Linked DNA regions of Homo sapiens: regions 1, 2, 4, 5, 6 and 7 are each linked to region 3. The links are contacts of gene promoters, found by promoter capture Hi-C in human tissues and cell types (Jung and others, 2019). All regions are on one chromosome and are shown on one strand. Each heading gives the region's core, a stretch centred on a gene start or on the middle of the fragment in contact. The rest is flanking DNA. Distances are from core to core; before and after follow the strand shown.

Region 1 (3,255 bases), core at 13-2,512, 310 kb after region 3:
ATCCATCGCTGCACTTCCCACAGTGCCTGGCACAGAGTGGGCCCTCACATGTTTACTAAGCTGAACTCTCAACACCTGTTTCATGCTTGTTCCTTTCCCAGGGAACGTGCACCCACCTTAATTCCCTCATGTATTTCTTCTCCTCAAAAAAGAGGAGGAAAAATGAGATCACTTGCTCAGGTTCAAAATGTACCCTCCTAGCTTTCTAGCTTACCTGTGTGCAAATGGTTTCTGTTTGGGGGCACTAATTGAAAAAGAAATCTGATTTCTGCCCTGTAGCCTGGGAGACGGCCTGCCAAGGAAGTTCATAGGGCCCTCCCCCAGCATGTAATGGCTAGTGGGTGTCCCCGCCTTGCATAGCTGGGGACACTGTCAGAGCAGCCTCCTGTCTTTGTGGCATGTGAGAGATAGAGGTGCCATGAGGGTGGGCACCGGGACAACCAATATCAGAGGTGACAACAGCAGGCCTTTCTGTTCCCTGAGCTGTGACATGTGACTGCACAGTGCTGGCCTTATGCTGGCCGCTACACCCTGGGCTACCATTTTCCAACTCAGTGTCAGCTTTCACACTCATGCCAAGTGCTCCACTGCCAGAAATCCTCCACTGGGAGTGACTCTCCTAAAAGAAGCATTTATTTCCAGCTAAAACTTTGCCTTTGCTCTTCTGAGTTTTGACTTCGCCTCTCCAGTTGGTTGGACTCCTCCCATGATCGTGATACAGGAGGATCACGTGTCTTTCACAGTTTGTTTTTCTAAATAAAGCCAAGGCATTATTTCTTTCCTGTCTATGTGTTTTTCCTGCTCTAGGCAAAACAGAAGTGGTCAGAATTCCTGTTTCGAAAGGTAACAAGAGATTAACATGGCACAGCTCAAAATGCCTCTCGTGATTTCTGATTGGGAATTTTGAGGCCCAGGGTGTAGGACCTGCATTATCCAAGGACCAGAATGTTTTTACAGAAAATTTCAAATGTATACAATGTAGAGAGAGGAGTGGAATGAACCCCATGTCACCCAGCTTGGACAGTTTACAATTCAGAAACAGTCCTGCCTCATCTATGCTAAGCCCATTCTCCCCTTATCTACCTGGATAACTGGAAACAAATCCAGATATATTTCATCTGTATATATTTCATATGTTTCTCTAAAACATAAGGGCTCTTAAAACCACAGTACCATGACCACACCTAGAGAGTTAAGAATTAATACCTTAAGATTACCGAATCCAATTAGAATTCAAATTTTTCCAAATAGGTCATAAATTTTTAACAGTTTGTAAATTTCAGGGTTCACATACAGTCCATATATTTTTTGCAATATTGCAATTAGAGGATGTGTTATGGCCTAGATTACAGCTTGATGGTGGAATGCCTCATCAGAGAACACCTGGGCCCCGCTCCTCCAAGGCTCAACATCTCAGAGCCAGCTTGGTCTATCCTTTGCCCTTAGTGGGTCATGGACTCCCATGCTTCCATGGGTTAGGCCCTCGCCATGTCACACTGCAAAGGCTTCCCACAGGCAACCAGCCCCAGCCTTCCTTGTTACACTGCCAGGCTGGCTCTCCTGCAGTAACCAGATCAATCTTGTCATAGCCTGGCTTGGGTGGCACCACCCCACCACCCATCCGTACACTCCCTTTCTCCCTAGCATGCCCTGCCCCACCCCAACAAGACAAAGCACAGCCTAGCTGTTTTTCATGGCCTTGAAGTGCCCCAACCTGTCAAAGTCTTCAAAGGCCCCCACATCCCGCCCCAGCCTGCCCCATGCTTCAGCCAGCTCCCTGAGCCTAAGAACAGGCTATGCCAACCCACCTTCACAAATGCCGTTATGAAAAAATCTGCTCAAATGCCCTCTTCTTTCCTCTGCACCTTTCCAAATTTCGTCCACTCTTCAAAGTCCAGCTCAGGTCCTGCCAAAGCTACCCCAGTGCTTTCTAGTCCCTGACTTGAACTTCTCGGCCAGCCTACTCGGGTTGTGCACACTAGCAAGCAGTGATGATTGTTAGCCTGCCTCACCTGTGACTGTTAGAGCCAGACTAGTACAGAAACTTATTACAGACTAGAGCTCAGAATATGAGTTTCAAAGACCTTTGGAAGACCAGAACTTTATGTCATATCCCTACTTATGTCTGAACACATCCTTGAATGGATGTGGAGGGTTTTTTTAAGCTCATTTCAGAAATTTAGCCATAAAGGGATGAGAGAAGGGTGTATGCGTGGTGGTTATGGTAAGGTGAGGGTAATGTGAAAGATTTTGTTTTTTGTTTCTGTTTTTGTTTTTGAGACTGAGTCTTGCTCTGTCACCAAGGCTGGAGTGCAGTGGTGCAATCTCAGCTCACTGCAACCTCCGCCTCCCAGGTTCAAGCAATTCTTCTGCCTCAGCCTCCCAAGTAGCTGGGATTACAGGTGCGTGCCTCCACGCCCAGCTAATTTTTTATATTTTTAGTCGACATGGGGTTTCGCCATGTTGGCCAGGCTGGTCTCAGACTCCTGACCTAAAGCGATCCACCTGCCTTGGCCTCCCAAAGTGCTGGGAATACAGGCGCGAGCCACCGCACCCAGCCTGTGTTTTTGTTTTTTATGAAGAGGCTTGAGCAAACTGCTATGCAGACGGCAAAAGAGACCAGAGAAGGAAGGTTGGAGACAGAAGAAAGAGGGGCTCACTGATGAAAGGTAGCCATGAGAAGACAGTGGGGGGATCCAGGCACCAGAGTCAACATTAATTCTGCCCCATGACACTTCTTGGAGGTCATACTCTGAGGTGGACCCCCCTGTGTCTGTGTCAGTGCTCACTGCAGGCAGCTTCCTGGAGAACCTGCCTGGGCCCAAGCTCCAGGGTACATCTCTTTGGGCCGGCTACCAACACGCAGTCAGATCAAAACTTGCCCCAAAGGATACCACTGTAGTGGCAAAGTTTACACATTCTAGATGATGACACGCCCTTTTTCAACAAATAGGCACAATTTCAGGACAATGATAGCTTTTGGTTAGTCCCTCAAAGTTTGTTTTGTAAGGAGGTCTGACCATAATGAAAGGCATGTGTATCTATATGAAAATGATCAAAAATTATGTACCAAATTTGAATACACATTTAATAAGATGGATTGTATTTGCAATAAAAAACGAGTACTCAAATGTTGAATGAAGGAGAAAAATCTCTAAATGCTCTCCTTCTTGGAGTGCAATTTAATTTTGGAGTTAATGCATTCATTTCTTCAACAAATGTGTCTAGTATGTGTCAGGCACTGTACTAGGTGCT
Region 2 (3,348 bases), core at 388-2,887, 290 kb before region 3:
AGGATTGCTGTTAATAGAACAATTTTGAATATCCAAGGAGTGGGAGGAGGTTCTTGAATGAAATGAGCTCATTCCTTACACTGCCCTCTTTCCCTCCCATCTTTAACAGCTCAGCAGTTCCCCTTCCTTCTCTCCCAGCCCCCCACCAGCCTTTGTAACTCAAATGACTGTCTTTTTGTTGGCTGTGTCCCAAAGATTGCTGGGTCCTAATGTACATTCTCACTCTCTGGGGAGGAGGTTAAATGGCTGCATCCCCAGGAAAAGTCCCTTACAAGTGGTGATCAAGTTCATTACAATGCCATGACAGAGCTAGCCATGGTTTTTGGTGGCTTAGAGACACAGAGCCAGGCCCTATACCCATGTATTTCTTTGATGAGGACCTAAACAACAAGAAACGTTTTCTATACTGTTTAAATTAAAAACAAATGAACCATCACAATGGACAGTTTGGGGGAATTACCTTCTTTCATGCCTTCCTATTAAAATGTTCCAAAATTGGAAAAACTGAGGGTTCTTACTGGTCATGAAGAAATGAATGGCCTTTTGAAATTTAAACTCCTTAGAATTATCCTGCTGAGAAGTTGTGCTAATTGACCACGCATGTATTGCCTTGTATTAATGTTCTAATATGTTTTAAATGCCATCCTTCTGTGTTTACCTTGTTTCTTCTCCTTCAAAACTGAAAACAAGAGATTCTCATCTCTGGCCAAGCTAACCAGAGACCCCCTCCCCTATAATGAGCATTGTGTTGCTAACAGGAAATCTGAAGTCATGATACCATGATGTAAATTCTCAAACATCTGAGTAAAAGTGATCATGACCAGAAACTTGTGTATGGAGGGAGAGTTGATAGTTGGCAGTTGATGTTGAATTTCTTTTGCTCTATGACATTTGCTTGCTTTTTATGTTGTGTTCTTCTTCTGTAGACTGTGAAGGGGATGTTGGACAATCCTAATGAACCTGTTAGTGACCTCTCTTACTTTGACTGCATTGAGAGTGTGATGGAAAACTCCAAGGTAAGACTGCCTATGCCGTAAGTCAGAAGTTAGCATTGCTTGTCAATGTGGGGAGAAGTTTAGACGTGCCTTCTGTGCATCTGCCTGTGGCTGGTCTGCAGGGCTAGCCACATGTAGCATGAAGCCTATTTGTGGAGCCCTTTGCTCAGGAGCTTCTCAAACTTGACGGTGCATCAGAATCACCTGGAGGGCTTGTTAAATACAGATTGCCTACCCCCAAGTTTCTGTTTCAGTAGGTCTGAGAGGAAGCTGAGATTCTACATTTCTGACTATCTCCCAGGTCCTGCCCCTGTGGTCCAGGAACCATACTTTGAGAACCATTTCCTCTCTTTTTTCACAAATGGGTCTTATTGTAAGTCAAATCGTGTATTTTCTACACCGGAACTGATTTGGAAAGTCCTTCAGTAACTTGACTTACGTGGGATCCTCTTATGTGTTCTTTTGCAGTCTATTCATGGCATGCATTCTCAAGGAGGGTGAAATTGTTTTGTTTTGTTTTGTTTTGGTAGGACATTGGAGAGATGTTGAAAAAAAATTAAGATAATATAATGGCTTGTTACCCTGCTCCTATCTTAACCTTACTCAACAAAATCTTATTCTTTGGCATTTGATTAGGAAAAAAAACATAAAAGGCTCCTTAGTGGAACAATAATAAAAAAAAAAACTGTTGAGAAACACTCCTCTGTAGTAATCATACCAATGTCTTTTGAGAATGCCTTCAAATCAGAAGGTGAAAATCAAATGCAAGGGAGAAGAATGGATGTCGAGCTGTTGCAATCTGGCTTTGTAGCTGAAACATGGTCACTTTTATTCTAGCGGGGAAACATCTGTGCTGGTAATGTCAAAAGGACTCTGTTTGATTTGGGCTAAAACTAGAATTTCCTCATCCAGTACCTTTTATGGAATTATGGATTGTCTAAGGGAAAGATGCATACACACTCAGATCCAAAGAAATGGTTCCTTTTTTGCAAATCCTTATGTAAACTGGATTATTTTGTATATCTAAGCAATTTTAGGGAATTTGTTCCCTTCCAAGATGGCTTATTGACAAATAGTCTCTGCCTTGGGTTCTAGACCTGGCAATACCACAGTCTCTCCACAGGGTAAAACATCCTTCAGTTCCATCATTGTTGCCAAGGAAAATATGACCAGCCCTCCTGGGGCATAATGAGGGAACACCAAATTTACATTGGGCACCCTGTACCTGCCCATGTGACCTTCACTGTGACCTTGTACAGGATGCATGACCACTCTGGGTTGGATTCTGAACACTAAAATCTCTTTCAGCTGTGATTGTAAAGATCTCTGAAGAAAGAATACACCACACCAGTGATTTTCAAAATAAGGCAAAATTCTTACAGTATTTAGGAAACATACTTAACAAAGATCTCTATTTAAATTTTACTGTCAGTAACTAGACAAATGATATCTGGAAGGGTGAGTATCATGCTTTCTGATTATGACCTCACCTACAGCTCGATGCATATGATTTTTATATTCTGGGAACTAGTTATCAGTTTAGACCATTCACCCATGAGTTGCCTTTTATAGACTCTACTATATTGTCTGTGTATATTAACTCTAACTGCTTGGAATACAGATAACTTTGGGGTTATACTTTCATTGTACTTATCTCTTTGTGGAATGGAAATGATGTAATTTTCTTCCATCTCTTTTTAATCCAAATAAAGGAGAAAATGTCAAATGTTCCAAATTAAGTTGCCTTGAATATTAAAGTTGGAGTGTAGCCTCCTTTACCCCTTGGTTTGAGGCAATGCTGGATAGAGAATGTTGCTGGCCGTTTGTTTTGCAGGTTCTGGGTGAATCGATGGCAGGGATTTCACAGAATGCCAAGACCGGAGACCTCCCTGCCTTTGGGGAATGTGTGGGGATTGCATCCAAGGCTCTCTGTGGGCTGACAGAGGCTGCAGCCCAGGTAAGGGGCTAGTCCCGATGCAGCCATGTGCCCTGTGCCAGATCCCTGTGGGAGGTGTGGGGGAACTCCAGCTGCACCTCTTTCTCCAAGTACCACCACAGAAACCATGGGAAAGGCAGTGGCTTCTGTGCTGGCTGGGGCATTTACACAAAACATGAGCCAGTTACCCCCGAGGAGCAGAGCAGCCATGGGCCAGGCTGGGGAGCATGGCAAGACTCAGTACAGACCCAGCATATAGGTTCAGAGGCCAACTTTTCAATCCTTTTAAAAGTTTTTATTATAGATGAGTTGTTTGGGGTAGAAAAATAAGCACTAAATAATTTAAATTTGCTAAGGCTTTAGAAATGCGAAACTGTTATGTCATGCTCTTTTTAGAATCAGAGAGAGAAAAAAATA
Region 3 (3,424 bases), core at 925-3,424:
GCTACCCTTCCTTTAAAATCAGTTTAAAAGCCATCACCTTTTCAGAGAATTTTTTCCCATCTGCTCTGACCTAGTCATTTCTATTTCTTCCTCGTGTGAATTCTTAACACCTTTCTCATGCCAAACACCTGGAGGACATAGACCTGTGCTACTCATTCTTTGGATTCCAGAGCCTAGTACCTGCCTAGTATATAGCAGGTACTCAACAACCGTGTGTTTAATAAATTGCTTGTAGCATGATTTCATTTAAGGAAACTTTAATGAGTCCCTCGGCTACATATGGCACAGTAAGAAAAGAAAAGTCAGTAACATGTGGTCCCGCAAGGAGTTTCTCTAGTTCAGTTGCCTCTTTTTATAAGTGAGAAAAAAGGCTTAGAGAGATTGTAACATGGCTAAGGTCACACTGCAAGGAAGTGACCAGGCCAGGTCTGGATCCCTGGAACTGACTCCTAACTCCCTATTCTTGCCTCCTCTGCTGAGCTCCAACCTGGGGAGTCAGCTCCCTGGAGTCCACGCATCTGGATATCGTCCACATGCCTGGAACTTTGTCACTGTTCCGGTGGCTGGGTTGACACACCGTGATTAAAGGGCTCTGGTCAATTTCTGTGCCACGCAGCCCCTATGCTAATGGTCAGATCTAATGTTCTGACCATTAGGTCAGTGTATCTTTTCCCTCCTGGGCAGTTAGGTTAGTGGAAGAAACCCGATAAAATCTTGGAGAGGAATTTGATCATTCTCTGAAGGACTTACAAGTTGTTTGGCCTGCCTAATCTGCTCAGATACCGTCCGGGGAATATTTGGTAACCATGCAGTACAGACTGTGAATTATTCTGTGGGGACTATTAACAAGACCCTCACCAACCCTGCCTCAGCTGATCTCAGGGCTTGGGGGCAGCCCCCTCTCCTCCCCTCCCACTGAAGCTCTGAAAAAAAGCAGCCTTTCCCCCTTGGGAGATGGGAGGAGTAGTTAAAAATAAGAAGTGTTGGGGGAAATCCTCCTCCTTCCAAGCACAGCTCACACGGCAGAGCCTCCTCAGAGTTGCGGCTGCGGATGCAATGACTTAGCCAGGTTAACGCCGATCCCATGTTTTCCGAAACCTGGCACCTAAGCATCTAACATGGAAGGCCGACTCCCTAAAATCAGTGCAAGAAAAATGATAACAAGTTATATCTGGAGGGACCTCGGGGATTATCTACCCGCTGGATTTAAAGTTGAGGAAGCCGCGGGCAGCAAACAAGGTCTCACAGTTGCTGGTGGCAGAGTAGAGACCACAGACCAAATTGCCTGAGTCTAAACTCAATGTTCTTTCCCCTTAGACTGCCACCCGCACACACACGCACACATGCACACCTTTTTGGAGGCACTGCACAGCAAGCACAGAAGTACGCCACTGAGTCCTGTGTCCCTAAAGTATTTGACTGTCCCTCCGCTGGGGGAAAGGGCAGGCAGAAAACAAGACTCCGTGTGCTGTCGCTGTGCCGCCCCCTGCCTCTCTGACCCGCGCCCGCAGAGAAAGTCTCAAGAGCCGCCCCAGGCTTTCTCCCACGTTCTCCCTTTCTCTGCTGCAGTTGAGTTTCCAGAGCGTGAGCGCGCAGGATGACACCTGGCTGGCTGAGAGCTGCCGGGGAGGCGCTGGCGGGTGCCGAGAGCGCACTGACCCTGACGCGGGGTGCAGCACGGCTGGGAAGCCCCCGGGCCTTTGGCTAAGCGCGCCGGGGGACGGCACAGGGGGGCGACGCGCATCCACCACCTGGTCCGCGCTCTCCCGGCCTCCGGCAGCTCAGGGCGGGCTCGGTTGGGGACCCTAATGGCTGGGTGCCGGCCCTGGGAGAAGGGCACGCGGAGGGCGGAGGGTTGCGCCTCGGCCCCGGCTCGGCCCCAACGCCCTCTCCCTGGCGCGCAGGTTTAGAAACAGGGCGGCCTCTCCGGCCGCCGCCTCGGCGGCTCGGGTCCCCATATATAGTCATATCCACCGTCAACTGGGAGGCCGGCGGCCGGCAGCGAATGGGCGAGCGGCCCCCGCGGGAGGAGCGGGGAGGGGGCACGGGGCGGAGGGAGGAGAGGAGGAAGGGGGGCAGGAGAAAAAAGCTTTTCCAAAAAAGTATTGGCTGTCTTGAGGAATGCGGTCGCCCCCTTGGGAAAGTACATATCTGGGAGAAGCAGGCGGCTCCGCGCTCGCACTCCCGCTCCTCCGCCCGACCGCGCGCTCGCCCCGCCGCTCCTGCTGCAGCCCCAGGGCCCCTCGCCGCCGCCACCATGGACGCCATCAAGAAGAAGATGCAGATGCTGAAGCTCGACAAGGAGAACGCCTTGGATCGAGCTGAGCAGGCGGAGGCCGACAAGAAGGCGGCGGAAGACAGGAGCAAGCAGGTCTGCGCCTCCCCGGCCCTGCGCCCGCGCCCAGAGCGCCGGGACTCGAGCCTGGCACCCCCGGCTGGATCCCCACCCCGAGGACTCGGGGAGCCACCACCCTACCCCCACCACCACCCAGGGCGGCCAGGGCGCGCGTCTGGAAAGAAGGAAGGGAAACGCAAGAGCCAGGCTTAGTCTAACTTAGTCTGGTCTGAGGACGCTTATTTCCCTTCTCTGGTTCCCATGGCCCGCGAAATCAAGTCCTAGAGGCGCTTTATTCTCAGGACTGGGAATCAGTTTGGGGGAGGGAGGAGGACACCCGGTTCCTGGGGACGTTTGAAGGAAGGGCGAGGGATGGAGAAAGGGGGTCGAGTAACTCAAGTGTTAGAAGTTCGTTGACTTTTGACTGGGGAGAAAGGAACCTTAAACTTGGGGAGGAGAAGGGAGTCCTGGAGTTGTTACCTAAGAACAAAGATGGGGCGGAATGGAGGCTACAGCCCGAAAGCCAGGCCAGCAGTGGCGTTCTTCTGTGTCCCCAAGTAGTGGACTTGAGCCCGCTGAGACCTCGGCAGGAGTCTCGTCCCAGGGCAGGTGGGTGTGCGGGGTGAGCCGCGGAGCGGTTCCAGCTCGGGTAAAGAGGAAGTTACCTCGGGTCCTTTGCACTCCAACTCGGCGGCGCCCCGAGCCCGAGGGGCCCCAGCCAACCCGACGCCCGTGTGTTGTGTGTGTCTAACACCCGGTCCGTGCCGGCCGCCCGCGCCCGCCCGCCGCTGCCCCCAGCTCGAGGAGGACATCGCGGCCAAGGAGAAGTTGCTGCGGGTGTCGGAGGACGAGCGGGACCGGGTGCTGGAGGAGCTGCACAAGGCGGAGGACAGCCTCCTGGCCGCCGAAGAGGCCGCCGCCAAGGTACCCGGGGCGCGCGGCACGGCGTGGCGCACGAATGGCTAACTCTTTCTCTTTCTCTCTCTCCCTCCCTGTCTTTCCCTCTGTCTCTCCCGCTGTCCCTGTCCTTCTGGTTCTGTGCACCCACACCCCTCCCCTTCGGGATCACGCTGCCTGCTGCACCCCCCT
Region 4 (3,549 bases), core at 634-3,133, 390 kb after region 3:
GCCCTCACCTGGAACTCTCCCTCCTCCCTGGATGAGGACCTTCCCCAGAATTGCAGGGCACCCACACAAGACCAAGCAAGTTCAGAGAAAATTGAAACCTGACTTTAGAGCCTCTGGGATGTTCACTACACCTCATTGAACCTGTTTGGTTCACAGGTAAGGAAACCGAGGCCCAGTCAGTCACTTTGGTCACGACTGCTCCTGGCGTTAGTGTCTGAGAGAAAATTACTAACCACCCTTGTGCTTCTGGTAAACAGTGTTTGAGGTTTAGTGTCAATGTGAGCAGTCGTATATGAGAACATCTCTGGCTGTGCAGCTAATTACCACCTTTCTAAAGTAATCTCTGCCTGAAATGTACTGTGGCTGGAGCAGTTCAATTTCAGCATTGAATATGAAGTGACCATGGGCTCCGCAGGCACACAGGGATCCAAATTAGGAGAAAGTTGTTCCACTTGTCAACATGGAAGGAAGCGTTGTGTATTTCTTCTTTGTGGTGCCAGATTTAGCACAGGGAGGCTTCTGCCGGATAATTCGTCTTTGCAGTCGTCCTTATAGGAGGGTCTTAGCCCACCACACTAGGTTATTTTCAGCCTGGTGAAGCAAAGAGGGAACACTAGTAGCAGAAGACCAGGCTGAAGGAATTGTCTCTGCCCATGATAGGTAACAAATGGGTTTTGTGGTTCTGAGCCTCAATTCTAGAAAATGGGTGCATTAATATTTACTGTATCTAGACCTAAAGCTTTAAATAACATCTGTAGACTGAAGCCTCCTAACAACCTAACACCACTATTTTCATTTTCATTAATTCATTTTCCAGACCTTGCTCACACACATACACACTTTGCTAAGTTGCAATCATATCACACATGATATATGTGAATCAAGTGTGATTCATATATACGACCGGATTCTAGATTCATACATACGACTGTCTACTAGACCCTGCTCTTGAGACCCAGCTCCCATCTCACTGCTGCCGCTTTCTTGATCTGGGGCAAGTTACCAATCACAGCTACCACTGGGCTCTACTACGTGTCGGGAGCTTTATAAACATGATTTCTTCCTAGCACAATCATCATTCCTCATTTTACAATAGTCAACATGCAAAAATGAAGCTTTCCATTTCCTGCCCCCGAAACCTGCTCCTCCCCTCATCTGCCTCTTCTCTGTGACACCATTGGTTTGCATCCACCTGCTCAGGCCAAAGACCCAGGAGGCCTAACTCCGCTCCCCTCCTCTCCTGCTCCACACTTTTAATCCATCTGCAAGTCCTGCCAGCTTTACCTGCAAAACACATCCAGAACCTGACCCTTTCTCGCCACATACACTATGTCCACATAACTCCTGCCACCGCTTTATGAAAATAATATTTTTAAATGCAAAAAATAACATACAGAGAATTATAAAGGAAACCAATCATATTAACATCTATTTACCAAAATATTTTAAAGAATAGATTTATGAGATATTAATGTATGTGCTTTGTTATTACCACATTAAATAAAAAGATCTGGTGGCAAGTCTAATAACTATTATAATTCCAAAGTAGTGATAAGTATAAGCAATATTTCCAGAGAGCTGCAGGGACTGGATGTAATGTGATATAAAAACATCTGTGATTTCTAGTGGTGACAAAGTCCCAGGCACTGCTCATATTATTGTAGTTTGTTGCCTACATTTATCATTGAAAAGAGTGCTAAAACCTAGTTAGAGGCCGGGTGCAGTGGCTCGTGCCTGTAATCCCAGCACTTTGGGAAGCTCAGGCGAGCGAATCACTTGAGGCCAGGAGTTCAAGACCAGCCTGGCCAACATGGCAAAACCCTGTTTCTACTAAAAATATAAAAATTAGCCAGGCGTGGTGATGCACACCTATAATCCCAGCTACTCAGGAGGCTGAGGCATGAGAATCACTTGAACCCAGGGACGGGGCGGAGGTTACAACGAGCCAGGATCCTGCCACTGCACTCCGGCCTGGGCAACAGAGCCAAACTCACCCTAGTTAGAGGTTCATGAAAATAGTCTTACATACACACACACACACACACACACACACACACACACACACACACACACAACCCCCACTTAGAAGCACATAAACACACACACTCATACACCCACATACATATTCCTCCACTTAGAAGTACACAAACTCCCTACAGTCTGGTTGAGAACACGTGACTGAGTGCACACCGCAGGCGTCCCTGGCCTGGGTGTTTGCAGCAACCTCCCGATGCACCTCCAGGCATCCAGTCTGGCCTCCTCCAGTCCATTCTCAGCTTGGCAGTCCCAATGACTCCCTCCCTGTGGATGTCATATTATATCACTGTCCTACTTCGAACCCTCCAACAATAGCCCATCACCATATGTAAAATCCAAAGTCCTCACCACAACCAATGAGGCCCCAGGTCATCTGGAAACCGCCTTTGCAAAAATTATATCAGTGAGAAAAATTATAACAGTAAGCTAAGCTAAACCTCCCCCAATCTTGCCTTTCCTTTAATTATTCCTGGACTGTTGGGCTGAGCTAAATTTGGAAGACATTTAGGCTACAGTGTAAATAATAGGCCTTGTGCCAAACTCAACTGCTTTTGTAAAGCTAATGGGAGGCCATCAGGCTTGGGGGAGGAGAGAAGCCTGAATCCCGCTAAGGTGCGGATATAAACATTGTCAGCCATTATTCGGGAGGTTATAAGATATGCAGCTTGCCCAATTAGTCCTGCAAATAACACCACTATTGTAGATTGGCCTTTTCAGATATCTTTCCAGGCTTTATCCATGTCTGACACCCATGGCTCCATCTGGACTGCCAACTCCACTCCTGTGGCCCCACCCAGGAGTGATTCAGCCTTTCAAAGGACAGCTTTGACCCCCACTGATTTCATTTCCACCCCAACAAATCAGCAGTAAGCACCTATTACCTGGTCTTCCCCCAAACTGCCTTTGAAAAACCCCTAACTTAGAAGCTTCACACGATTTGAGTCCAGATTCCATCTCCCACATGGCGTGGTCAGGCTTGTGTCTATCATACTCTTTCTCTACTACAATGCTGTGGTCTTTGTTTATGCAGTGAGCAGGAAGAACCCCTCAAGCAGTTACAGTCTGGACCCTGGCTACCTCCCCGTCCTCATTTCCACCACCCTCCCCTCACTCATTTCACACCCTTCTGCCCAACGCTGTTTCTCTCTCCAGTACCCACCTGGCTCCTTCACTCCTTTGGGGCCTCTGTTCAAATGTCACCTGCTCAGAGAGGCCTACTCCGATCCCCCCTTCCCCATGTAAAACAGTCCCCCCTCCCAGTCACACTCTACACTCAGACCCTGCTTTCTGGTCCTACTGAGATGCATTTGTATGTTTCTGTGTCTTTGTGTTACAGTGGGCAGCTAGTCAGGCATAAACAGGAGGAGAGAGCCACCCCCGCCTCACCACCAGGAATGTCAGGCGAACATTAGGTGATGGTCGGGCGGTTGTTAACAGTTTCTCTTAAGGAATCATCCGTCACAGCCAGCTCCAGGGAAAGGCAGTCTCCCTATAGATAGGAAAAAACCTGAA
Region 5 (3,187 bases), core at 22-2,521, 360 kb before region 3:
CTCCCGCCTCTCATTGGTAGAATGCCTGCATTCTCCCGCCTCTCATTGGTAGAATGCCTGCATTCTCCCGCCTCTCATTGGTAGAATGCCTGCATTCTCCTGCCTCTGAGTTACACAAGCTGTAGACATTTTCAAAACAAAAACAATCTAATCAGGACCATCTTGAGAGAGAAGCTTCTAGATGGCCGTCAAAAATCACAGCTACAGCTCTTTGTGTGTGTTGGTATATGAGATAGATGGGTCTTCACTGGTGCCTGCTTTAGCCTGCTTTGTCTACTGGAGATAAAAGGAAGCTGGTCTGTGTAGTTGAAGGTCGGAAAGGAGTGGTTCGGGGGTACTGAGACTTGAGGCATAGGAAGGAAAGAGGGAGCTTTATTACCCTGTGGCCCTCCCGTCACATCCCTGTCACTGAGGCTCTAAGGCAGGTCTCTGCACCGGGGAAGACCTTGCATCACGATCACAGATCTCAGCCATTTGCTACTTTACCTTTCTCCAGCTGCTCTGCGTTTTGTGTGTAGGTGCTGAAGTAATTTTATCCCTTGATGGTGGTCTCTGTTGCCAGTTGCAGTATTTTTTGAGTTCCCTCAGCCCCTTTTCCTCAGTTGTGACCTGTTGATAGAGCGTCCACTGTAAGTTGTTTGTTCACTGTGGCTTCCTCTCCCAATCTGGAATGATCTTGACAAGAATTAGGGCAATCCGTCACGATTCTGTGTTCCCGCACCCCAGAAGCCCTCACTGGGGAACAGTGCAGATGGGAAAGAATGAAGGAAGCAGCTGCAAACCATATTTTATCTCCAGTCCCCTTCCTGGGTCCCAGAAGCTGGGATTGTGCCAACCCTGTGTGACTAAATTAGCTGCCTAGAGCCTATCAAGCTAAAACTCTGTGTGGCTCCTGAAGCCAAAGTAGATTAACTGACATTGTCTGCCCTGCACTGATCTCACCCCTTGTGGAACTGCCCTCTCTTTGAAAAAAATCTGACGCTTGTCAGTGTTTTTTAAGACTTGAGGTTCAGGGAGGAATATTCCCCTCCTCAGACACCCAGGTAGATTCCTCATACCATGGTGTCCTCCGTGAGGAAGCTGGGGGTGTGCGGTGACTGTCACCATCTGAGGGTTACCAGATGCCCATGGTGAGGGCGGTTGGGGGTGGGTAGGATTTGGCCTTTTCTCTTTTTGCTTCCACCAGAAGACAGTAAACTGCAGTAGACAGTCAGCTTTTGAAGTCAGAGATATTTTTGAGCTACTCAAATCTATGTTCAAATTATGGCTTTACCACTCACCACTGTTGGCTTTGGTCTCTTCACTTGCAAAGTGAAAAATGATGATACCAGTGTTTTGGAGATGCTCTGAAGATTAACAGATGGTGCTTATTAAGTATCTAGTATGTTCCAGCTCTGTTTTATGTGCCATTACCCTGTGTTGGGTGTGTGTAGACACATCCACAAATGCATAGATACTTTGTGTGAATGTATATATCTAGGCCTCTGAGAATAGCAGTTTAGGTGTTGTTGCTAGGTTTCAGCAAATATGAGTTGAAAAGGTTTTCCTGACAGCCCTAAAAATACACACTTAATAGTGAAATTTTGGAAATAAGGAAAAGCATGAAAAAATAATACAAAACACATGAGATGTTCAGTGCCTTTTTCATGTAATGGACATAGGCCTATTTTTAAATTTTTATTTCCTCTAAGATTAGGCCCTATATTCTGTTTTTTAATAATATATTATGAATAATTTACTTCCATAAAACCAATTGTTTTTCTACAATATGATTTTTAATAATGTAGGGTAATCTGTTATCTGGATATATCATAATTTATGTATCAAGTCCTGTGTTATTGAAAACTTGGATTGTTTCATCTACAGCCATACCACCCTGAATGGGCCTAATGTTGTCTGAAAATTGGGTGGTTTCTAGCTTTTCACTATGATGTACTGTGGTTGAGCTTCATGTGGCATAATCTTTACACACATTTATAACTTTTTTTTAAACTAAATTTCTCAAAGCTAGCTGTGTCAAAAGTAAGGACTTTTTAAGGGTTTGGATAGATAGTGACACATTTTCCCCCATGAAGGCTTTGCTATCTTAAGCTTTCATCACTAGTGACCCGCTTCACATCTTCCTCAAATCTGAGTATTAATTTTAATAAGAAACCTTAGCTATTTTAAGTGAAAACTTATTTGCTTATTTATTTTAAAAACATTTTCTGTTCATATTCTTCAGCAGTTATTTTGTTGATTTATGAACACATCACATAGACAGTATATGAAGTCTATTGCCATTACATTCATTGTAAATATTTATTGCCCAGTCTTTTTCATTTTTTATGAGGTTTCTTTAGCTTCTGCTCTCCTCCCCCTGGTCTATCAAAAGTATGTATATTTTGAGTTAAGCATATTAATCGTTTCCTTTATGGCTTCTTATGTTGGTGTTTTTCTTAGGAAATCATTTGTCACCCAAGGATCACAAAAATATCCACTTGGATGTTCTTCCTAAATTATTAATCTGTCTCTGTCTTTAATTTGTTTTGGTATGAGTGTGAGCTAGGGTTCCATTATTTTAATAGACATTACTATATCTTAAAACATTATTAAAACTAGTTATAAAATAAGTTTTAAGAATCAGTAGATATACAAAATTCCAAAACAAAGAATCCAAACAGAAATATATTTCAGAGATTTAAAAAAAAGGGCAGGAAGCTGTGTCTCCTCATAATGAGAAGATTCTACTTTGACAGAGTTTTAGTTAAGTTAATTTTAAATCTCAGATTAACCCTTGTTTGTTACTCACTGAGTTGGCCACTGGGAGTGATAGTACCTGGAATTCACCTTTGCTTGTTTTTCTCTGGATGTCTTTTCAGTTCTATCCCATCTTTCTGGCATCGTCTGTTTTTGGAGCAAGCTGCTCTCCTGAACAGGGGGCATGATTTTGTGGCTCTTTCCAGTCTTCTCATGTCTTTGTTTGAGTTCCCATGCCTTTAGTTTAATGAGTTATTCACCTAGCCTCAAAATCTTGGTTTCCCTATAGCCCTACCTGTTTTGAAAGACAGTGTATGCAGGTGAAAGGTCAAAAAATCACTGATTCCCTGGCAAAGTCAGATGTATTCAGAAGAAGAGCACTGACTCTTGGTATCTCCTGTTTCAGGAGAAGATGAAAGGCAAGAACAAGCTGGTGCCTCGCCTGCTG
Region 6 (3,636 bases), core at 676-3,175, 480 kb before region 3:
AAGGAAAATTTTCTGGCAGGAAGGATTTAAAAATGACTTTGTCATCCATCTGATGTAGATATTATAGGATTTCGAATGTGTAGGCATGTGTTTGGGTCAGTTGTGTGCATGTCTTATTTCCTCTAGTAAATGGTGAGCTTCTTAAGGACCTGCTTGTATCTTATTTATTTTGTTTTGCATTCCTGCTCCCACCATTACTCCTGAGCACCTACCACATATGTTCAGGATGTAGTTCCTATAGAAGAAGAAAAATCATTTTCTTCTTCAACCTTCATAGATTCTTAATTGGAACAGACCCCGTTCTTAGTTGGAACAGACCCCCTGTAACAAAAGACAGATTTAACAAGAGAAAAACCAAATTATTGACATGTATATTTTATATATACGTGGAAGATACCCAGGGAATGAGTAGTTCTCAAAGAGAGGTGGCTTTGAATTCTAGCTTATATAGCATCTTCAACAAAGAACAGTAGGTTTTTAGAGAAGTGACAACACTAAGGAAAAGGATTTTGAGCCTCTATGGGCAGCAGGTTGGGGGAAGATAAGTAACTGCAGATAACGGCTAGTTAGCAAAGTTTGTTCACGTAGTTCCCTCTGGTACCATCTCCAGGCAGAGAAGTGAGAAGCATCTAAAGCTGTCTGCGGTGGTTAACCTTTGTTCTCCCTGATAAAAGAGGGGGCAGGATACCTTTCTTCTTTGTAAACACATATCCTGCTTTTAGGCAGATACAGGGAGAGCAGAGAAGCTTTCCTGCATTTGCTTCTTCTTAATTGTCTTCAGCCCAATAATCCTTCATATTTTGGGGTGGCCTATTCTGGTCTCCCACATTCCTGATTCTCTTCAAACCCCTGTGAATGAACATCCACTTTCCCTTCAGCTAGTGATGTCACTGAGAAGGCAGGAGAGGAGAAATTCAGAGGGAGGAGTCCTCCAGCAGCCTGACTTCCCTCTTGACTCTCAGTGTGCAGGCGAGTTGTTAAGAGAGCTCTAAATAGCCTCTTCTGGGGATTGCTGCATTTTACTAGGATCACCGAAAATTGAGGCGGGAGAGCTTGCCAAGAAAACCTCTCCCAGTTCTGCGTGGGCTACAATCTAAGTAACTGAGGCCAGCGGATGTGGACTGAGCCTAGAGGAATTGTGGTAAGGAAGCCTTGTTTCATGGTGGGATTATCAATGTTGTCCCCAATGTTCAGCTACACCCTTCCTACTCTTCATGGCCAAATTGGAGAACTGTCTCTTCTAAGCAGCTTTGTTTGGCTCAGAGTGAGCTGTGCTCTTTATTCTTTAGCCAGACCATGTGCATTATATCACTAGCACTTTCTTGTGCTCGTGCCACCTATTCTGCAACTATCTAATAGAGGGTTTGGTCTTCCACACTAGCTCTGAGGTAGCACTGTTGCCATAGCACCTGACATATACTGAGTGCTTATTTTAGGCAAGGCTCTTTGGTGGCAATGGAAACCCATTCATACCAATTTGGTAAACAAGGAAGTTTCCTGTATGCTTTTGGAAACAAAGGGCCTTGGGGATCACCAGAACTGGGGACTGAGGCACTGAAGGTGCTCTCCTGGGCTCCCACGTACCTGGTCCCTCTTTTGGTGGGGGGGTGTGCTTTATCTTATTATCCAGATGAACTTGCAAGGTCATTATTACCTCCCAGTTTCCAGTAACCTTCTGTGGCTGTCCTAATCTTTGTGACTTCGTAATCTTCCAACCACTGAACTAGAGTTCCACCAAATAGAATGGCTCAGTTACCAGGAAGAATTCCACTGGCCAGAATTGGCCTATTTGACCGAGACCACACCAGTATTAGATCCCTGGCCTGGAAATGGATTAACTGCCATAGGGTCAGGGCTCTACCCCTGCCTAGATGGCTTCGGGAAAGTGGGAAGGTAGGGCAGGTCCCTGGGGACCAAAGGCAGCTCCTTTGGGCTGGGCAGACCACAAAACACATCTCTTACATTATTTAAGTATTTGCTAGAGAAAATGATTCATCCTATTTTCCAATTCTAATACTCCGTGTTTTTTTGTTTGTTTTTTTGAGACAGAGTCACGCTCTGCCACCCAGGCTGGAGTGCGGTGGCGGTATCTTGGCTCACTGCAACCTCCACCTCCCGGGTTCAAGTGATTCTGCTGCCTCAGCCTCCCAAGTGGCAATGACCCAGGCTGGGGTGGAGTCTTGGGGTATGGAAGTCATGTTCTCTAGAAGTAGATGGAGCCACCTAAGTGGGCCCGCCTAGCTGGGATTACAGGCACCCGCCACCATGCCCAGCTAATTTTTGTATTTTTAGTAGAGACAGGGTTTCATCATATTGGCCGGGCTGGTCTCGAACTCTTGACCTCAAGTGATCCGCGCGCCTGGCCTCCCAAAGTGCTGGGATTACAGGCGTGAGCCATCATGCCTGGCCAATACCCCATGTTTTGATGTGAAATTTTTCTGTGCCTCCTGTCTTTGGTTAAGAATTACCAGGCATTCTAAAGTATGTCTTCACCTGTCTGGACGATGCCCCTGCCCTGCTCCTCAGCCCTTCTTTGCAGGGTGGACTCTGCCTGAATTGCATAATGAAGGCTGTCAGAGAGGAGGGCAGCTCTGCAGGTGATGAGACTTGAGGACAGTGTGTCACCCCTTTCCACTCATCGAGTGTGCAGAACTGCAACCGAGGCAGCTGGAGCCAGGAGGCAACGAGGGTGCTGCAGACACAGCCTAAAGAGTGGTGCCCACTTGCGTGGCTCTTTCCAGAGGGAAAAAATGATTTGCCTTTCCATTTGTACAGAATGTCGCTGCTTCCCATTCTTCCTCTACACAGAAGGAAAGGGAAAAGAAATCATTATTCCAAAACAAGACGGAAGAAAGAGAACTAGCCCCATTCAGGAAAGTCAGGTTTCTGGCAGGGCTGTGCCTTGCGACTTCATTAGACCCATGTGTTATTTTGAGTGGCGGGAATAATAGGACTTGCACCTAATCAAGGAAAGGAATTCCAAACAAAAGCTTGGGTGGGGTTTCCTGGGCAGAAGCGTGATATTGTAATAAATGGGAAGCAGGGTTCTACAGTCCAATCTCTGGTCTGATTACACAAATTATAGCAAAGGGCCTGTTTTCAAAGGAATGTAACACACCCCGCCGAGGCCCCTCCTCAGCGGGTGTGTCTTCATTTCCTCAAGCTCCCTCCTTAACAGCTAACGCCTTCGCGAGAGGAGCTGAGGGCCCTATGCGGAATAATTAAGATGCCTTCTTTAGGGTCTCTGCCTTGGGGCCATTTTACAGGTGAGTTTACCTTATGCTGAAGTCCTTTAGGGACTCCTGTGGCTAACTTCTCCGCCCTTCTCTTGCATTACTGAACAGAAAGCTAGTGCAGGAGCCTGACCTTCCAGTCACAATTGCGAACATTTCCAAGCACTAATGAGCCAAGCGCTTTCTATGGAGTTGAGGAAAGTCTGTCTCTCTCTCTTTTTTTTTCCGCAAAAGGTGTATCATCCCTTGCCACTGTGCCTGATCGCCTGCTGCTGTCCTTGGTCTTCAGACCCCACCCTGGCCTCCTTCCCTTTCCGACTCCCTGGGCCCAGCCAGTTGAGCCACTGAGGAATTCTCCCTGCTGCTTCCTCTTGCAGTATCCTGCTCCCTACCCCACTTTTTC
Region 7 (3,365 bases), core at 117-2,616, 310 kb before region 3:
GATTGTTTAGGACTCCTTTAGCATTCTAGGAGGAGGAAAGGTATGATAAAATTCTTAGAAAATCATAGGGTAATATGAGAGATTTAAATTTCAAAAATGTCTACACTTTCCCGAAATCTTGCCAGCTGTTGTGTAGATGATGAAATGCATATTTAGTAGAGAAAAGACTACTTTACATGTTGCGTCATCTCATACCAATAACACCCAGGAAGACATGCTGTCTAGTTGGTGTCTGAAAAACAGCCTAGAAGTAGCCCCATTTAATTTTGGCAGGCACTGGAAGGCAGTTGCATAAGTGAGCACTGCATGTATGATGCCTTAAAGATGAGAGAAGGATGATGGAAGGAACTGAAGATGGTGAAAGTAATAGGCAAAGAGTAAGTGAGAAATAAGAGGATAACGCTGAAAAGTTAGGCCAGGGTCAGATCCTAAAGGGCCTCATAAGCTAAAATAAATGAGTTATACTTTAATTGAAGAATATGTGAACATGTTTTTCATCTGTGGACACAGTTCAGATTGCTTTTTGTATAGGTCGCCCTTCCTCCTGTGTGTAGAATGGATTGGACGGAAACAAAGTGGTAGGCAAGCAGGCTGTTGCATTAATCCAGGTAAGAGATGGTAGTGTCCTACAGTGGAGACGAAGTGGTCGATTGAAGAAGCAAAAACCCAATCGTTCTTGGTGACTGGTTAGAAGTTGGTGGAGATGGTAACATGAACGGTTCCAAGTGTTTGGCCTTATAGCTGAGTGAAGAGTTGTATGAATCACTGGTGGGAACACAGGACCATTGGTAGGAGCAGGGGAGGTGAAGCTCAGGAATGCTGGGTTCGGCACTAGATATATTCCATTTGAAGTGCTTGGAGAATATGCAGTGAGAGCATCATTAGGCAGCTAAATCTTTGGCTCTGAAACTCAGTAGAGAAGGCTGGGCTGGATGATACAGATTTGAAAATTATTGGTAAAATGATAATGATTGGAAGTAGATAATTTTGCCAACAGGGAGTGGTAGAGTGAGAGACAGCTTATCAGTTGTAATCCTGAAGAACCTGGCTGGTTAGGGAGGAAACTGGCAATGGAAATCTTTGAAAGAAAGAAGAACATGGAGCTGTGGAGAGGGCAGGGAAACCAGGAGAGAGGGATGTCTCTAGAGCCATAGACACAGTTGCTGCCCAGAAAGTCATGTCAAATGGGAGACTTAAGCATCCATTAGCTTTAGGAATAAGGAGATCACTATTCTCCTTGTTGAAGGCAGTTTCAGGAAGGTTGGAGAATGGATGGGAAGCAAGGAAAGAGAGAGCGTGTGTGGAAAACTTCTCCATGGGTCTCAGTTTCCTTGTCCATAATTGAGGTGTGTGGGGTTTTCAGAAGTTGCATGTGAGCTGCCACTGGGCTGTATTCTAATGCAAGTGTGTTTCTGTTTGGCCAATGCAGTCTTCAAAATATATTTCTGTATAGCTGATTACAATTACACATAACCCTTTGTAAATACTTTGGAACAGATAAAAGATTTGTGTCATACCTGGTCTTTGTCTTCTGAGGTTGCTATGTGGCCCAATACTGTCTGGATACACAATCCACATGAATTCTGGTGAAGAATAGCAACCATTATGTAGAATGCTACTATATTTGATATCACTTGATATGCCTGTATAAGACTCTGTTACTAAGTATCATTTAAGATCCAGATGGCAAGAATACTGTGAAAGTAATCTGTGTTTTCAAAGGACTGTGGTTATTGAAACAGAAATCTGCTTTAGTATTTCACACTGGTGGTTCTGGTATTGTGGTGCACACTTTGACTACAGGAACAGTTCCATTCGGTGGGTGTTGTTTGCTTGGGGATCTGATCCTGTAGTGATGACCATTGAGAATGTTGCTGTGCGTTCAGCCATGCACCGCCATGGGTGTTCACTGGGCTTTCTGACCTCTCGTGGCCTTCTTTCGTCCTTTTGATGGTATGGGCTTCCTGTTTCCAGAAACCTCATCTCTCTCAAGAAGATCCTTGATGTGCTTTGAGATTTCACAGTGAGTCCTTAGCAGAAAACACATGGGATGGACCAGGTTGTTCTTGGAATTTAGCTCTTCGGATTTCTGCGTTTTTTTAAATTGTATGAGTCTATGAAAGGTTTTTCACTAAATGGGTTTTGCATAAACATGTCTTTTCTAATTACATATGATAAATGATTTACTCCTCCAAACTTACATATGACTCAAATAGAAGTGGATTCAAGAGTCCATATGACAAATGGGAAGACAAGAGGAGAGGTCTAGAAATCACAGCCTAGAATCTGCAATGGTCAGAGCTAGGAACTCAGCCTCTCCTAAAACCCGTGAGAAAGGGAGGCCCAGAGGGAAAAGGCAGCAGTCTAGACCACACAACTAATCAGCAGCAGAGCCAGAGCCAGATGAGGTCTTAACTACATCTGGCGCTTTTCTGAGCAACAGCATCCTTCAACCCTGTGCCAAAAGCTTAAGCGTAAAATGGAATGACCATTCTCCTCAGATTGTTTCTCTCCTTCACCTTAGCTTTGTTCACCTTTGTGCTTTCTCTTCTGGGCTTCTCCTCTGCCATAAAAAGCACTTAGTTTAAAATTCTTTTATTCTGCCAGCTGTACTCAGAAGTGCCATGGGATAAATGATAGATTGGCAGCTTTGTCATTTACCTTGATTAGATCGTAGTTTTATATCCCAGCTGTGTGATTTACTAAATATTTACATATTAGCAAGTCTGCAGCACTGCAAACCCATCTGGTTTTATGGATCTGAGGCCTTTCACACTCTATTGTATCTCAGAGCCTCACCCTCAGTGAGGAAAAGACCACCTGCTGTGGAGGTGCTGACTCAGCTGAAGCAGTGGCTGGTAAAGACTACACTCACTGGTGCCGAGAGACCTTCCAGCTCAGTCCTGTAGAAAACAGTCATTTCAAAAGTTCAGTGCGAGAGAGACACTGATTTGCGTATTTTTCACGTAGATCTTATATGTTCTAACAGAAAGGGCTCATAGTTCTCTACTGCAAAGAGCACTATAAAGAATATTTGACCTCAAAGTGAGGAAAGCTCAGATCTAGCTCTCTTGCCACCTCTGGAAGTGTTTGTGGGCAAGATATGTCTCAGCACCAGGCTTCATCTGTGAAATTTCATGAGATGAGCTCTAGGGTAAGCTGTTCAGCGATTCTCAGGCGTTATATGTGTCCTGGCATCTCCAGTCTTCATCCTCTTCTTGGGTGTGCCAAGGACTGTGTGCCAGGTAGTAAGACTCACGTTTATTCCGCATGAGGTGGTGCTACAGCTTTAAAGGACTAGTTTATATTCATCGTTTATCACCAAATCCCATCATCTGTTTAGATGCAAATTTAAAGAGAAGGAG

What was found. The method cuts DNA at HindIII sites, captures the fragments that hold promoters and counts their contacts. A contact is called where the count stands out against the background at its distance.
Region 1: a contact is called between a fragment that was not itself captured here and the fragment with the promoter of TPM1 in region 3, in 1 of the 25 tissues and cell types used here (lymphoblastoid cells).
Region 2: a fragment that was not itself captured here is called in contact with the fragment with the promoter of TPM1 in region 3 in 3 of the 25 tissues and cell types used here (bladder, mesenchymal stem cells and thymus).
Region 4: a contact is called between a fragment that was not itself captured here and the fragment with the promoter of TPM1 in region 3, in 1 of the 25 tissues and cell types used here (mesenchymal stem cells).
Region 5: a contact is called between a fragment that was not itself captured here and the fragment with the promoter of TPM1 in region 3, in 1 of the 25 tissues and cell types used here (H1 embryonic stem cells).
Region 6: a fragment that was not itself captured here is called in contact with the fragment with the promoter of TPM1 in region 3 in 1 of the 25 tissues and cell types used here (mesenchymal stem cells).
Region 7: a fragment that was not itself captured here is called in contact with the fragment with the promoter of TPM1 in region 3 in 1 of the 25 tissues and cell types used here (lymphoblastoid cells).

The regions. Positions count from the first base shown.
Region 1 is chr15:63,349,797-63,353,051 of GRCh38, forward strand. All of the region lies in intron 2 of CA12 (carbonic anhydrase 12), which reads right to left. Among named protein-coding and RNA genes, the nearest start is that of CA12, 30 kb to the right of the region's middle. The HindIII fragment of the contact is 8,588 bases long and covers 1-3,255 here.
Region 2 is chr15:62,749,476-62,752,823 of GRCh38, forward strand. TLN2 (talin 2) reads left to right here. Exons shown (of 59, transcript NM_015059.3): 34 at 927-1,016; 35 at 2,830-2,952. Among named protein-coding and RNA genes, the nearest start is that of MIR190A, 73 kb to the right of the region's middle. The HindIII fragment of the contact is 6,490 bases long and covers 1-3,348 here.
Region 3 is chr15:63,040,573-63,043,996 of GRCh38, forward strand. TPM1 (tropomyosin 1) reads left to right here and starts at 2,175. Exons shown (of 10, transcript NM_001018005.2): 1 at 2,175-2,371. The coding sequence starts at 2,258. RefSeq lists enhancers at 1,119-2,033, 2,947-3,424. The HindIII fragment of the contact is 3,976 bases long and covers 1-3,237 here.
Region 4 is chr15:63,432,233-63,435,781 of GRCh38, forward strand. LINC02568 (long intergenic non-protein coding RNA 2568) reads left to right here. Exons shown (of 7, transcript NR_120375.1): 6 at 1-156. Among named protein-coding and RNA genes, the nearest start is that of LINC02568, 44 kb to the left of the region's middle. The HindIII fragment of the contact is 3,127 bases long and covers 321-3,447 here.
Region 5 is chr15:62,683,496-62,686,682 of GRCh38, forward strand. It overlaps TLN2 (talin 2), which reads left to right. Exons shown (of 59, transcript NM_015059.3): 12 at 3,146-3,187. It overlaps LOC105370855 (a long non-coding RNA gene), which reads right to left. Exons shown (of 5, transcript XR_007064673.1): 2 at 487-609. Among named protein-coding and RNA genes, the nearest start is that of MGC15885, 40 kb to the left of the region's middle. The HindIII fragment of the contact is 4,732 bases long and covers 1-3,187 here.
Region 6 is chr15:62,558,217-62,561,852 of GRCh38, forward strand. All of the region lies in intron 1 of TLN2 (talin 2), which reads left to right. Among named protein-coding and RNA genes, the nearest start is that of MGC15885, 85 kb to the right of the region's middle. The HindIII fragment of the contact is 5,903 bases long and covers 1-3,636 here.
Region 7 is chr15:62,732,069-62,735,433 of GRCh38, forward strand. All of the region lies in intron 28 of TLN2 (talin 2), which reads left to right. Among named protein-coding and RNA genes, the nearest start is that of MGC15885, 89 kb to the left of the region's middle. The HindIII fragment of the contact is 4,474 bases long and covers 1-3,365 here.